4 separate regions of the Homo sapiens genome follow, and all the other regions are linked to region 3. Evidence: promoter capture Hi-C in 16 types of primary human blood cells and fetal thymus (Javierre and others, 2016). All regions are on one chromosome and are shown on one strand. The core of a region is centred on a gene start or on the middle of the fragment in contact, and the rest is flanking DNA. Distances in the headings are between cores, read along the strand shown.

The links. The method cuts DNA at HindIII sites, captures the fragments that hold promoters and counts their contacts. A CHiCAGO score of 5 or more calls a contact.
Region 1: a fragment that was not itself captured here is called in contact with the fragment with the promoter of IFIH1 in region 3 in 1 of 17 cell types (fetal thymus); the score reaches 5.2 in fetal thymus.
Region 2: a fragment that was not itself captured here is called in contact with the fragment with the promoter of IFIH1 in region 3 in 5 of 17 cell types (activated CD4 T cells, erythroblasts, non-activated CD4 T cells and 2 more); the score reaches 8.0 in activated CD4 T cells.
Region 4: the fragment with the promoter of TANK here is called in contact with the fragment with the promoter of IFIH1 in region 3 in 1 of 17 cell types (non-activated CD4 T cells); the score reaches 5.1 in non-activated CD4 T cells.

The regions. Positions count from the first base shown.
Region 1 is chr2:161,218,039-161,221,033 of GRCh38, forward strand. All of the region lies in intron 4 of TANK (TRAF family member associated NFKB activator), which reads left to right. Among named protein-coding and RNA genes, the nearest start is that of LINC01806, 25 kb to the right of the region's middle. The HindIII fragment of the contact is 3,065 bases long and covers 1-2,959 here.
Region 2 is chr2:161,239,286-161,241,997 of GRCh38, forward strand. The region is part of intron 3 of PSMD14-DT (PSMD14 divergent transcript); the gene reads right to left. Among named protein-coding and RNA genes, the nearest start is that of LINC01806, 4.1 kb to the right of the region's middle. RefSeq lists a silencer at 1-16. The HindIII fragment of the contact is 5,710 bases long and covers 1-2,712 here.
Region 3 is chr2:162,317,233-162,319,980 of GRCh38, forward strand. It overlaps IFIH1 (interferon induced with helicase C domain 1), which reads right to left and starts at 1,452. Exons shown (of 16, transcript NM_022168.4): 1 at 623-1,452. The coding sequence starts at 1,075. It also overlaps a transcript of GCA not described here. RefSeq lists a silencer at 1,247-1,336 and enhancers at 1,367-1,916, 1,485-2,684. The HindIII fragment of the contact is 6,386 bases long and covers 690-2,748 here.
Region 4 is chr2:161,158,801-161,161,678 of GRCh38, forward strand. TANK (TRAF family member associated NFKB activator) reads left to right here and starts at 1,628. Exons shown (of 8, transcript NM_001199135.3): 1 at 1,628-1,686. It overlaps TANK-AS1 (TANK antisense RNA 1), which reads right to left and starts at 1,490. Exons shown (of 3, transcript NR_187173.1): 1 at 1,332-1,490; 2 at 365-436. RefSeq lists an enhancer at 1,338-2,101. The HindIII fragment of the contact is 6,780 bases long and covers 1-2,878 here.

The DNA.
Region 1 (2,995 bases), core at 177-2,676, 1.1 Mb before region 3:
GTCAAAGAAAATACTGCCAAATTGCCTATGTTAACAAGTGACTCGTTTGGCAAAACTTGAGTAAATCTATCTTAAGTTATTTTTGGATGTACATTTCTATTTGTACGATACATCCTTGAGAACGCAGCAAAAAAAAGGCTATACCAAAGGTTTCCCCTCCCACCCTGGGCAATATTTAAGCATCAAAACATGGCCTGTAACTGCTTCTCAGTGATAAATATATTTTTTATTGTATGACAGGAAGATTTTAGAATCTTAAAATTAGTTTGCCTTGGTGCAATATGTAAATGTAACCATTCTTTATCTCCAACCCTATGCTGGATAACTGTACCACTTAGCTTCTCCAGCAGCCAAGCATTATGGCTAAGTAGTTAAAGCTACTGGGGCAAAAAGGCTTGTGTTCCAATCACAGCTACTCCGCCTGCCAAACTATACACAAATTATTTGATCTCTTCAAAGCAAATTTAAAAATCATAATTAAATACGTAATTCAGAAGATTTTGTGGCTTGCCAGGTGCAGTGGCGTGCACCTGTAGTCCCAGCTACTTCAGAGGCTGCAGCAGGAAGACTGCTTGAGTCCAGAAATTTGACTCCAGTCTGCTCAACGTTGCAAGACCTCCATCTCAAAATAAGCAGCTTTTGTGATTTCAGTTAAATAAGTAATACATGCAAATTGCTTAAATAATAGCTATTTTCAAGAAGATAGCTTCTGTTCTTCATGGTGTAGTGGCATAACACTAAATTTGTAGTTAAAGGATTTTTCCAAATCAGTTCATTTTTTCTTTTTTGAGATGAGTTCTTGCTGTGTTGCCCAGGCTGGTTTCAAACTCCTCCCTCTCAGCCTCCCTAGTAGTTGGGATTACAGGAGCACACCACCATGCACAGCACAGATCAGTTCATTTTAAATGTAGTGTTTGGGGAAAGAGTGAAAGGAGTGTGAGAAATCTTAATTAAATTGCTCACTGAAGTTATGCAGTTTCTATTTTGCATTAAAAAAGCATGTCCACAATTAAATATTTCTTCCCTTTAAAGAAATCAGAAAGATATATGCAAAAGGTACCTAATACAAAGTGAAAGACTTAGAAGACAGATAGTAGAAAAGTATTCATCTCATTCTACAAATTAACTTTGATAGAATTGAAATTACAGTAATTGTGGCAGTACTGGCAAAGGATTTTACCTTTTCTGAACAATATGTTTTATTGTAGCATTGAATCAGTAGAGATTGTGGGGATGGGTTATGTTAAACCACAACCCAATAAAGAACTTGGAAGTAATTAGGGTGTTTAATTTTATTTTTATATTGTTTATTTTCTTGCCACTTCCTTCAGAACTCTGGGATGGATCCCATTTTGCCCTGGAGTTGTTCCCACACTGGCAGTGGGTTTGCCTAGCACACTGTATCACACAGAACAGACAAGGCTCCTAGGATTTGTGTTTCTCTTGCTTTGCTAGATTTTCAGGAATGTTAATGAGGGTGAGAGAACCATAGATTTTATATGGCCGTAAGTTCTTTTAGATTAAATACAATATTCTATTTTTTTATCTTTTATCCTCAAACTTTTATGTACTATTCTTTTATGTTTATTCTTATCAAATATCTTTTTGTAATTTTTTTTTTGGTCCTGTTTTATACCTTAATCTTTTTCTGTCTCAGCCCTTTTTTCACTTTCTCCCTGATTCAGCTGTATCCAGTGCTTGACTTCACTATAACATCTTTTGTCTCAGTATATGTAGACTGGTAAGGAAATATTCAACCTCAGTTCCTCCTTTAACATTTCATTCTTAGTTCTCAAAAATCTAAGTGACAAATGAATCTTTATTTTCAGTTTTTTTCCTACTACTTACTTTTCCTTTTTCTGTAGTGAATTTTATCAAGCTAACATTTATACCTATTCCATAGTTTATATTCCCTCTACCAATCCATCCCATCCCACCTTGGCTTACTTCTTGGTTTACATTGATCCAAGTAAGGATTCTCGTTTCTGTTTTAAAAGCATATTTCTATTTAGCCTCATCCCGAAACGAAATAAAACATTGACTACACTCAGTTGCCTAAGCTAGCTAAAAATAAATATTCCTTTGCATGCAAGGATCGTAACTAAAGTTTAAAGGGAGTCTTTGATATGAACACTGGAGTTAAGTGAAATATGTATCATTGAAAACTAACCTTCTTTACTTAATAGAAGCCTTTTAAAGTTTAGGTTTCTTACATACATATGAGAGAATATACATCTTGTTAAAGAGTTTAGTCAGAATTATCTTTAAAAATTCCATAACTCAGCTGGGCGCGGTGGCTCACGCCTGTAATCCCAGCACTTTCGGAGGCCGAGGTGGGCAGATTGCCTGAGGTCAGGAGTTCGAAACCAGCCTGACCAACATGTTGAAACCTTGTCTCTACTAAATATACAAAAATTACTCGGGCATGGTGGCGAGCACCTGTAATCTCAGCTACTTGGGAGGCTGAGGCAGGAGAATTGCTTGAACCCAGGAGATGGAGGTTGCAGTGAGCCAAGATCACGCCACTGCACTCCAGCCAGGACAACAAAAGCGAGACTCTGTCTCAAAAAAGGAAAAAAAAATTCTGTAACTCAATTTTATTTTGCTGACTTTAATTGCTTAAAATTTTTAAGAAAAAATATGGTTTCAAATGACAATTTTTATTTCTTTTCTGTATCTTTCCAATTTTTTATAAAAGGAATAAAATAATTTCACTTTTAGTATCAACTATAACAAAAGCAGGTGTTAAGGAAAATGTACATTTCTTTCTTTGAGAGGTTGATATCTAACATATCCTAGAATGGGAAACAAAAACATTTTTGATTATTTTTGCATCAATAATAAAGCCTGATTTGGACTAATGAAATATTAACCACTTTTTTTTCTCCTCCTTAAATATCACTGCATATTCAACTGTCCCTTGAACATATATTTTTGATATAATACCCATCTAGGGAGAAGCTTAAATTGACTTACACTAAATCAAAATTCTCCC
Region 2 (2,712 bases), core at 179-2,678, 1.1 Mb before region 3:
ACAAAGGCCAAGAAGGGCTCCAGGACTGAGCGCAGATCTCCTGCCCTGCCCGAGCGTGGCCGCCACCCCGAGGCCTCCAGCCGCCCCCAACCCGCCCTGCAGTGGCCGCGCCCCGCTGGCCTGCGGCGAGTCGGCGAGGTCAGCGCCCCCCGCCACGCCTCGCGCGCTGCGGCTCTTAGACCCCTGGAGCCCCTTTTTTGCCAGAGCTACCGGTCCACGGTTTAAATGATCGCAGCGAAGATACATAAAGGGCCTTAGCATTAGCTGTGCTTCCAAGGCCTGACCTCCTGACCCCAAGACTAGATTAAGGGGCCGTCTGGGCCTCGAGAGTTCCCTCGAAAGACCGTCGCGGGGAGAGAAGGGCCTGGAAAGAAGCGGGCCGCGCTCCCCCCTGCCGCGAAGACTGTGGGGCAGATGGGGGCAGGACCTGATCTGGAGGCCCAGCTCCCCGCCTGGCCGCTCTGTTCTATACTCTGGCCCGAGACAAGCTAGTCAAAAACAGCAGCGCCCTGGCCGCCCCTCCGACAAAGAGCCCATCGGAACCCGAGTCTGCTGAAAAAAGCCTTTCATACCTGTTGATGCAGGCGGGGACCTGAGATTTCATACAACCTCCTGTTACTTTTTGACCGTAAAAGCTGATTGTTGCACTTAAAAGGCACTTTTATTCCTACCATTAAAATATTTTTACTGTTACGGGTTTACATAAACTACCCTTATAAACATCATAAAACTTCCTTCCCCGTAAGCCATAGATGGACCTCCAGAGTAACTAAAAACCTGTGCAGTGTAATTGTTTCTTCTGCTGACCCCTACCTTTGCATAACTTTATACACACCATTGTTCCTTTTTAAAAAATCAATTTAAAATAAGGTTTGCTAAAGCTCAGTCATATATACACAAAGGTTTCATTTATATTATTCTGCTTTGTAATATTTCATGATAAAAGTACACAAAAATGAAATTAAAATGAGTAAATTTTGGTATTTTTATACCATCCTCATTGATCCTAGTCATGTGAAAAACTACACAAGTGCAGAGTGAATCATTTTTCCTTTTAGAATATGCCCAGGCATACCAATAGAATAGCTGAATGCAAACTTCAGATCTACTAAAATCATACAGAACGTTTTAAAGTTTTTAAGTTGAAAAATCTTAGAAGAGTTACATAAAGGATTTTGTGTAAGTAAATGTTAATGCTTTCTGCTTTCCACTCTTTGGAAAACCACTAAGCAGGCCTCTGCCCTTGGCATATACAGACTTCTTGATGCTACAGTATTAGCTGGCATTTGGAAAATTCCCTTGTGTCTGAATCTGTTAAAATAGCAACCTATCTAACAGCAAAACAAATTTTAACTTTATATTTATTCATGTAAACGTGGAGATTCAGATGTTCCATCAGCATCAAAATTAAGCAATTTATTAACTATTCACCAGCCTTTGCTTCATTAACCAATTCTGTAGAAGCAATGTCTCTCTAAAGCTGTGAATCTACAGAGCTCAAACAAATTTAGTTCAATCCCATGTTGTTATGTATCTCACCAAATTATTTATCTTCCAATAACTTGGTTTATACAGGCTTAGTGTAATTTCCTCTCAGTATACAGACCTCACAAATTTGCATGACTGTTTTAACGGTGTATTTACAGATAAGTTTTTATTTGCACATAAGGACAAAAAGGTGAAGTGAAATTTGGTCCCAATGGAAACCTGTTAGGTTCCCTGAACATATGGCTCATTGGGCTGTTACTTCCTTTTTGAGATCATTTTCCAAGATTTTTTAATATATACATCAATTTGACACCAGTTATAAAGAAAATATATTGGCTTTGAAGATTCCTCCACCTGGGGCATATCTCTTAATAACACACCATGTAGTCAGGTGTACCTCTGAATATACAGGTTTCCAGTCTCTGAAAACGGCATATTTTGAAATCAGTCAGAGCTGCCAGTTGATTTACACTGTCTTTGAAATTAAGTAGTTCTTTGGATTCTTAGAATGCCACATTGATTTGATTAATACAGTTTAGGGGTGACTAAAACTCTTTTTTGGAAGGCTGTGCATTTGGAATCCACAGTATTACAATGATTTCTCTCAGCAGATACAAGTGATGTAAGTCTCATTTGTTGAAAGTGTGTGGTGCCAGCTTAAGACTTAAGGGGAAAATCACAGCACTTTGAAAAAGATGTAAATGTTCAATTGGTAAAAAAGGGGAAAAAACCGTGCTAAAACATGTGCCTATTTCCATTATGCTTAATTTACTATTCAAAACAAGTTTTTCCTAATAAGCTCTATTGTTTCTTTCTGTTTTGTAAAATTTAATATGTGTGAGACAAAAACCAGATTCAGAATGTGAATGAAGTCTGTTTAGCGAAAGATTGTGGGAGCTTACAGTTCAAGAAGGCCTCAAATTAAAAGAAACATCATCTTCTATCACCAAAAAGATACAAAGAAGCAAGTTTCTTGGGTCATTTCTAGGACCAGTTCCTAGATTGCCAACTTCCTCCATCCTCAGAGCTCCTCATGGATGAATTCACACACTTTAAAGTGCACCAAGCACTAGAATATTCAGAATGATTATGCCACGTTTATTTACTGCATAGCTGTAGCTTTCATCTTATTGTAGTCCTCTTTTCTCTGAAGCATCAATCCCCTAATAGGACTGAAGTAAGTTCTCAAACATGTTATCCCCTTGTCCTGACTATAGAGGGTTA
Region 3 (2,748 bases), core at 202-2,701:
CATGACTGTGTTCCAATAAAACTTTATGAACACTGAAAATTAAAAATTGAAAAATCTGAAGACCATTCTTAGCCTGTGGGCCTGAAAAAAACAGTAGCAGGCTTGATTTAGCCCATGGGCCGTAGTTTACTAACCCCTGCTCCATGGAACTACATTAAATAAGAAAAACATTCAACACTATCACAAGCTAAATTCTTAGCTCTGCCACTGTTTTTCCTGGGAGACCTTGGACAAATTATTTAACCTGCCTCAGGTTTCTCATCTGTAAAATGGAGTTAATAACATTAGGAGCCTCAGTGGGTTACTCTGAACATGAACTGTAGTAATACATTTTGAAAATGATACCAACTGCACATAGTAAGTGTTCAATAAAAGTTACCTGTTAATACACATTACGATTCTAGAGTTAACTCCTTTTTACTTCAGTGAAAACATTAGAAAAGTAGTTCTTTTGTGTTTAAATTTTTAAAATTGTCTTAAAGTGCCTAGATGTTGTCTTCTCAAAGGAAGAAACTAGATTTGCCCAAAGAGGTCAAGCACATTTGGAAAGGGGCAAACGCACAAGGAAGCCTGCTTTGCAAAATCTGCCTAAAAGGCTAGCTCCATCTGAACAGACACCTACCCGGTTTCTGTCTTCAATTGTCAACAGTTCCTCCTCCATGCACTTATCCAAGACGTCTCTAACTAGAAGCTTGTCCACCAGAGTGGGCTGAAGGAGGTTCAGCAGTTGGAGATATTCATCATGAGCGTTCTCAAACGATGGAGAGGGCAAGTCCGTGAGCTCAGGGTTCATGTAGCGGGCGGCCAGAGGGCTGCCGGTTCTCCGGAGGGCCTCCACGAATTCCCGAGTCCAACCAAGGTGCCAGACTCCCTTCTCCAAGGTGCTCAGCAGCAGTTCAACTGCCTGCATGTTCCCGGAGGTGGCGACTGTCCTCTGAATCTGCTCCTTCACCTCTGCAGGCAGAAAGGTCAGGTAGTCCAGCACAGGCTCCACCTGGATGTACATTTTCACCCTGGCCCTGAAGCACGAGATGAGATAGCGGAAATTCTCGTCTGTGGAATACCCATTCGACATCTTTCTTTCTCAGAGAAGGGAGAGGGTTCTCCCAAGCAGATGGTGCTGTTGTCTGCGGGACAGGTGAAATGTGCGTGCCGCTGTCCGCTGCCCACTTAGAGAAGCAGGGTCTACCGCTCTGTGCCTGACAATGACGAGGTTGTCCACAGGGCTCTCAGGCCGGCGCGCGGGGCTGCACTCGCACCTGGGCAGGTGGGCAGGCGGGCAGGTGGGCAGCGGGGCGGCGCGCGGGGCCGCGGCAGGCAGGTGCGGCCGGCAGGCGCGGCACTTTGGACTCTGCGGTGTGCGCCTGGGGTCCCGGACCGGGGCGATCCTGCTGCACACTCGGGTAGGAGCTTTGAGTCCAGCTTTCTGTCAGGCAGTTCTTACAGAGTTTGCCTGACTTTGGTTTCTGTTTCGATTCTCTTCTCAGGACTTTGTAAACGTAATCTGCCTGGCGGGGAGGGAGTTTCCTCAGGGAGACGCCACCTTTTGGTCGGGGCGGGTGAAGAGAGGAGGCCTTTGGTTAAGGACACCGCGGGAAACAGAAAAGGAAAGCGAATTCTCTCTGACACCAAGACCAACGCTCTAGCAAAGCTCCTCCGGCGGATATTTTGTTTTCCCAGCAGGTTCTGCCTTAACAATAAGGTCCTTTGTAGGCCAAAATGTGCAGGGCATAAAAGCATGTGATTTGGGACTTTCCAAAGGGGAAGTGAACAGAAACTGCCACAGACCCGGACGTGAACAGGGAGTTACCCTCGGCTGGTGAATGTAGGCAGGCCTGGCTGAGGGTGGTGAGACTGCGAGGGACAGGTGAGAGATGAAGCTCAGAAGACATCTTTGCAGAGATGTGGAGAAGACAGGAGGAAGTCCTTCCTAAAATAAACCTGACCTCCTGTGGGTTCCCAAACACTAACTTGTTTCCCTGGGAATTTGGAGGTGGGTTCGAAAAAGTGAGTAACAATAAACAGTTAACTTTACTGCCTCATATTTAGATTGCTGGTATTTATGCAGCTTTGACCAGGACCTGGTAACAGATGTGGATGGACTTGAACCACCAACTCAGCTTAGAAGGAAGCCAAGACTTAAAGTTTCCTAGATCCCAGCTTGTAAGTTCCCTATATTCTTTAATATACAACTTTCCTTTAATAAAACAAAACAAAAAAATCCCCCAACAACTTATTTTTGATATAGCTGCCATTCTTTTCTTGGATTCAATACAGCAAGTTTTGGCTGGAGCAGCTAGGAACTTAATTAGCAACTAATGTACCAACTTGTAGTAAACATCAACATTTGTCTATGTCATGAGAGAAAAAAAACATATTCACACTGAAAAATGGCAGCTTCATTTTGGTACAGAAGCCACATAAATGTGAGTCCTTAAGGTTACTACTCATTCTGAAGGCATTCTGTAGCCACATGTGACTGTGGGTGGTAGGCACATACGCACCATAACTAGAATCTCATGGTCCAGAATTATATAAAGGATGGAGAGATCATTTAGGTTATCAAAGAGACATATTTAGGAAAAATAATCTGTTAGCAAAGTACATTCAATAAAGTCTGTGTAGGCCAGGAAAACCTGATAGTGCTTTGAACAGGATAATAGAAGTACAGAGTCTTGGTGAGTGTTTACTAGGGGCATACAAAATATCCAAATGAGCACTTTATGGTAACATGTCTTATTTTATTCT
Region 4 (2,878 bases), core at 378-2,877, 1.2 Mb before region 3:
CATATCTGATAAAGGACTTATCAAAAATACAAAGAACACTTAAAACTCAACATTTGGAAAACAACCTGATTAAAAAATGGGCCAAAGGCCTTTACCTCCCCAAAGAAGTTAACCAGATGGTAAATAAATAGCCATATGAAAAGATCCTCCACGTCATATGTCATCAGGGAAATGCAAATTAAAACAACAATAAAATATGACACACATCTATTAGAATGGCCAAAATCCAGAACACTTACAACACCAAATGCTGGCAAGGATTTGGAGCAACAGGAACTCTTATTCATTCCTGGTGGGAATGCAAAATGGTAGCCACTTTGGAAGACAATTTGGCAATTGCTTACAAAACTAAACATTCTCTTACCTTATGATCCAGCAATCATACTACTTGGTATTTATCCAAAGGAGATGAAAACTTATGTCCGCACAAAAAAACCTGCACACAGATATTTATAACAGCTTTTTTTCATCACACTGGGGTGAGGGATGTTGATAATGGGGAAGGGCTATGCTTGTGTCGGGGCAGAAAGTATATGGAAAATCTCTGGACATTCCTTTCCATTTTGCTGTGAATCTAAAACTGCCCTCAAAAAAAGTTTAAATAATTTTTTTAAAGCAGTACTGTATTGTGATGTTTAACTCAATTACTTATTACAAGAAAACTATTCAACTGGTCAAAACGTTATATATAAGAAGTTTCTGTTTGTTAAAAACATTGTTTCAAATATATTTAGGCTTTGACTTTTAAAAGTATACAGCAACATTCAAGATAACTAGACAGAATGCACTGCAACTTGGCAGGTTTTTAAATCCTTGGACTTACTGGCCTAAGGAAAGATGTGTAAACATCCATGATTCAGAAATACAGGGAGAAATTGGGGCAGCCAGACCTCATCCTCTTGCCCTAAAGGGAAAAGATATCTTTCTTGCGGTATCTAAGATATGAATCTTAGATAATATTCATGCATGGCTAGGAATTGGAATAATGGGAAAGTCTTAATTCATGGGAAATTTTCTAATAAAGTTCCACCTCCATTTCCAGCCATTCCTCTTTAACAAATACATTTAGTGAAAAATACTACCAGTTGGGGAGAAACCAAATGGGTATGTGTATATGTAGTGTTTCTCAGAGTGTGGACTTTAACCACGTTTAATTACATAAATTTACGAGGATCTGTTGAAAATGCAGGTTCCTGGGCTTCACTCCAGTTGCTCTGAAATGAAAGCTGTAGGAGTCGGTTGGTGAAACTACATTTTGTTTCTCAGGTGATTCTTGTGTACTCTAACTCATATATAGGGTGATGTTATTTATTTACTGGTTATTTATTTACCGGTTATTTATCGTTTGGCAAAAAAATCCAGCAAAGACTCACAAGTGACCTTTACACTTGACATAGGATTCTCTTCCGCTGCTGACGCTTTTTTTTTCTAAGAGGCGGGGACTTGGCTGGGCAGGGCTGGGGGAGGGCGCTAGGCGGGGCGGGCAGGGGCGGGGCAGAAGAGCCCTGGGCTGGGTGGGGCAGGGCGGAAGGGCCCTGGCCTTGTTGGGTGGAGGTGAAGAGTTAATGGCTCCGCGCGCAGGCACTGCCCTCTGAACTGGAACAAAATGCAACTTCCGGTTGGAGTCACTCGGCCAGGCGCCGGCGACCTGAGGGGAGAGGGAACGCAGCTGAAAGCGTGAACTGTGTGAGTAAGAAACTTTGTGAATTGGTGTGTCCGAATCCGTCAAGCACGACGTCGGAGAATTTGTATGCGTGAGCGAGAGGGACGCGCTGACAGTAGGGGCGCCGCAGGGAGAGAAGCCGAGGAGCAGCGGAGACAACCAATTTGCAGTTTGGGGAGGGATTTTGTGCGGGAGAAACCACGCGAGTCCTTCCCCCGGAGCGGACTCCTTGTGGGTTGGTTTCCGGGCCCGCGATGTCAGCATAGCATCGTCGGCCTCTGCCCCAACGGCTTCAAGGGAGGGACTCGTCCCGGCTGCTTTGCCCGGGAAATGGGGGTGGAAGGGCCTGCGGTGTCGAGGTGAGCAGTGGACCCTCCAGGAACATTCCCGACTTCCCTTCGGGAGAGAGACTGCCTCCTAGAATCAAGTAGTATCGTGGTTACTCTTTCGAAAACTTAATTGGTTCTTTCTGTTGTTTTCCCAAGGTGGTTGCACAATTCCCCTCTGCCTTCCTGTGGGGTGTCATCATAGCCTGGTCAATGAGAAGTTGGGTAACTTCCCAGAGGGTCACGGAGGGAGTGGGTGGCCAAGGCAGGAAGAACAGAAGCCAACCCCGCCCACAGTGGGAACCCAGGCGTTAGGTAGAGTCCTCACGCCGGTGTAAACTGACTAGCAACGAGTTACAGGCAAAAAAGCTGTGCTTTTCTAGAAGTAGAAAGGGGGAGGATAATCAAAGAAGAGCTGTGCCTTTATTGTTATGCTATAACGAGCAAAAGTAAAGCAGCCTTGCTATGTAAAGTGGTGTTTATCTCACCTCACAGGAGATGCTTTTGACAAGTTATAATAAGGGAGAGATGGTAGTAAAGGAAGTGAAGAAGCGACGTGAAATTGAAGGAAAAGAAAATGACCTGCCTTCTTACCGCGGTTGGAATACACACCCAAACGAGAGGTAGCAGAGAAGCAAGCAGTGCATTCTGTTAAAAATTATTGTGTCCTCATTTGAGAGAGGAGGGATCCTCAAATAATACAACTATGTGCAAAGCAGGAAGTGAAATCCTTCTCAGTCCTCTCCCCAGTTGTAATCCAAGCCTTCCACATCTTTCCTGTATGTGCATAACCATGTTATTTTGCTTTCTTATGAAAATGAGATTATGCATACTGTTCGATAATCTGTTTCAGATTAAATATATATATATGGTGAAAGTCTTGCCATAT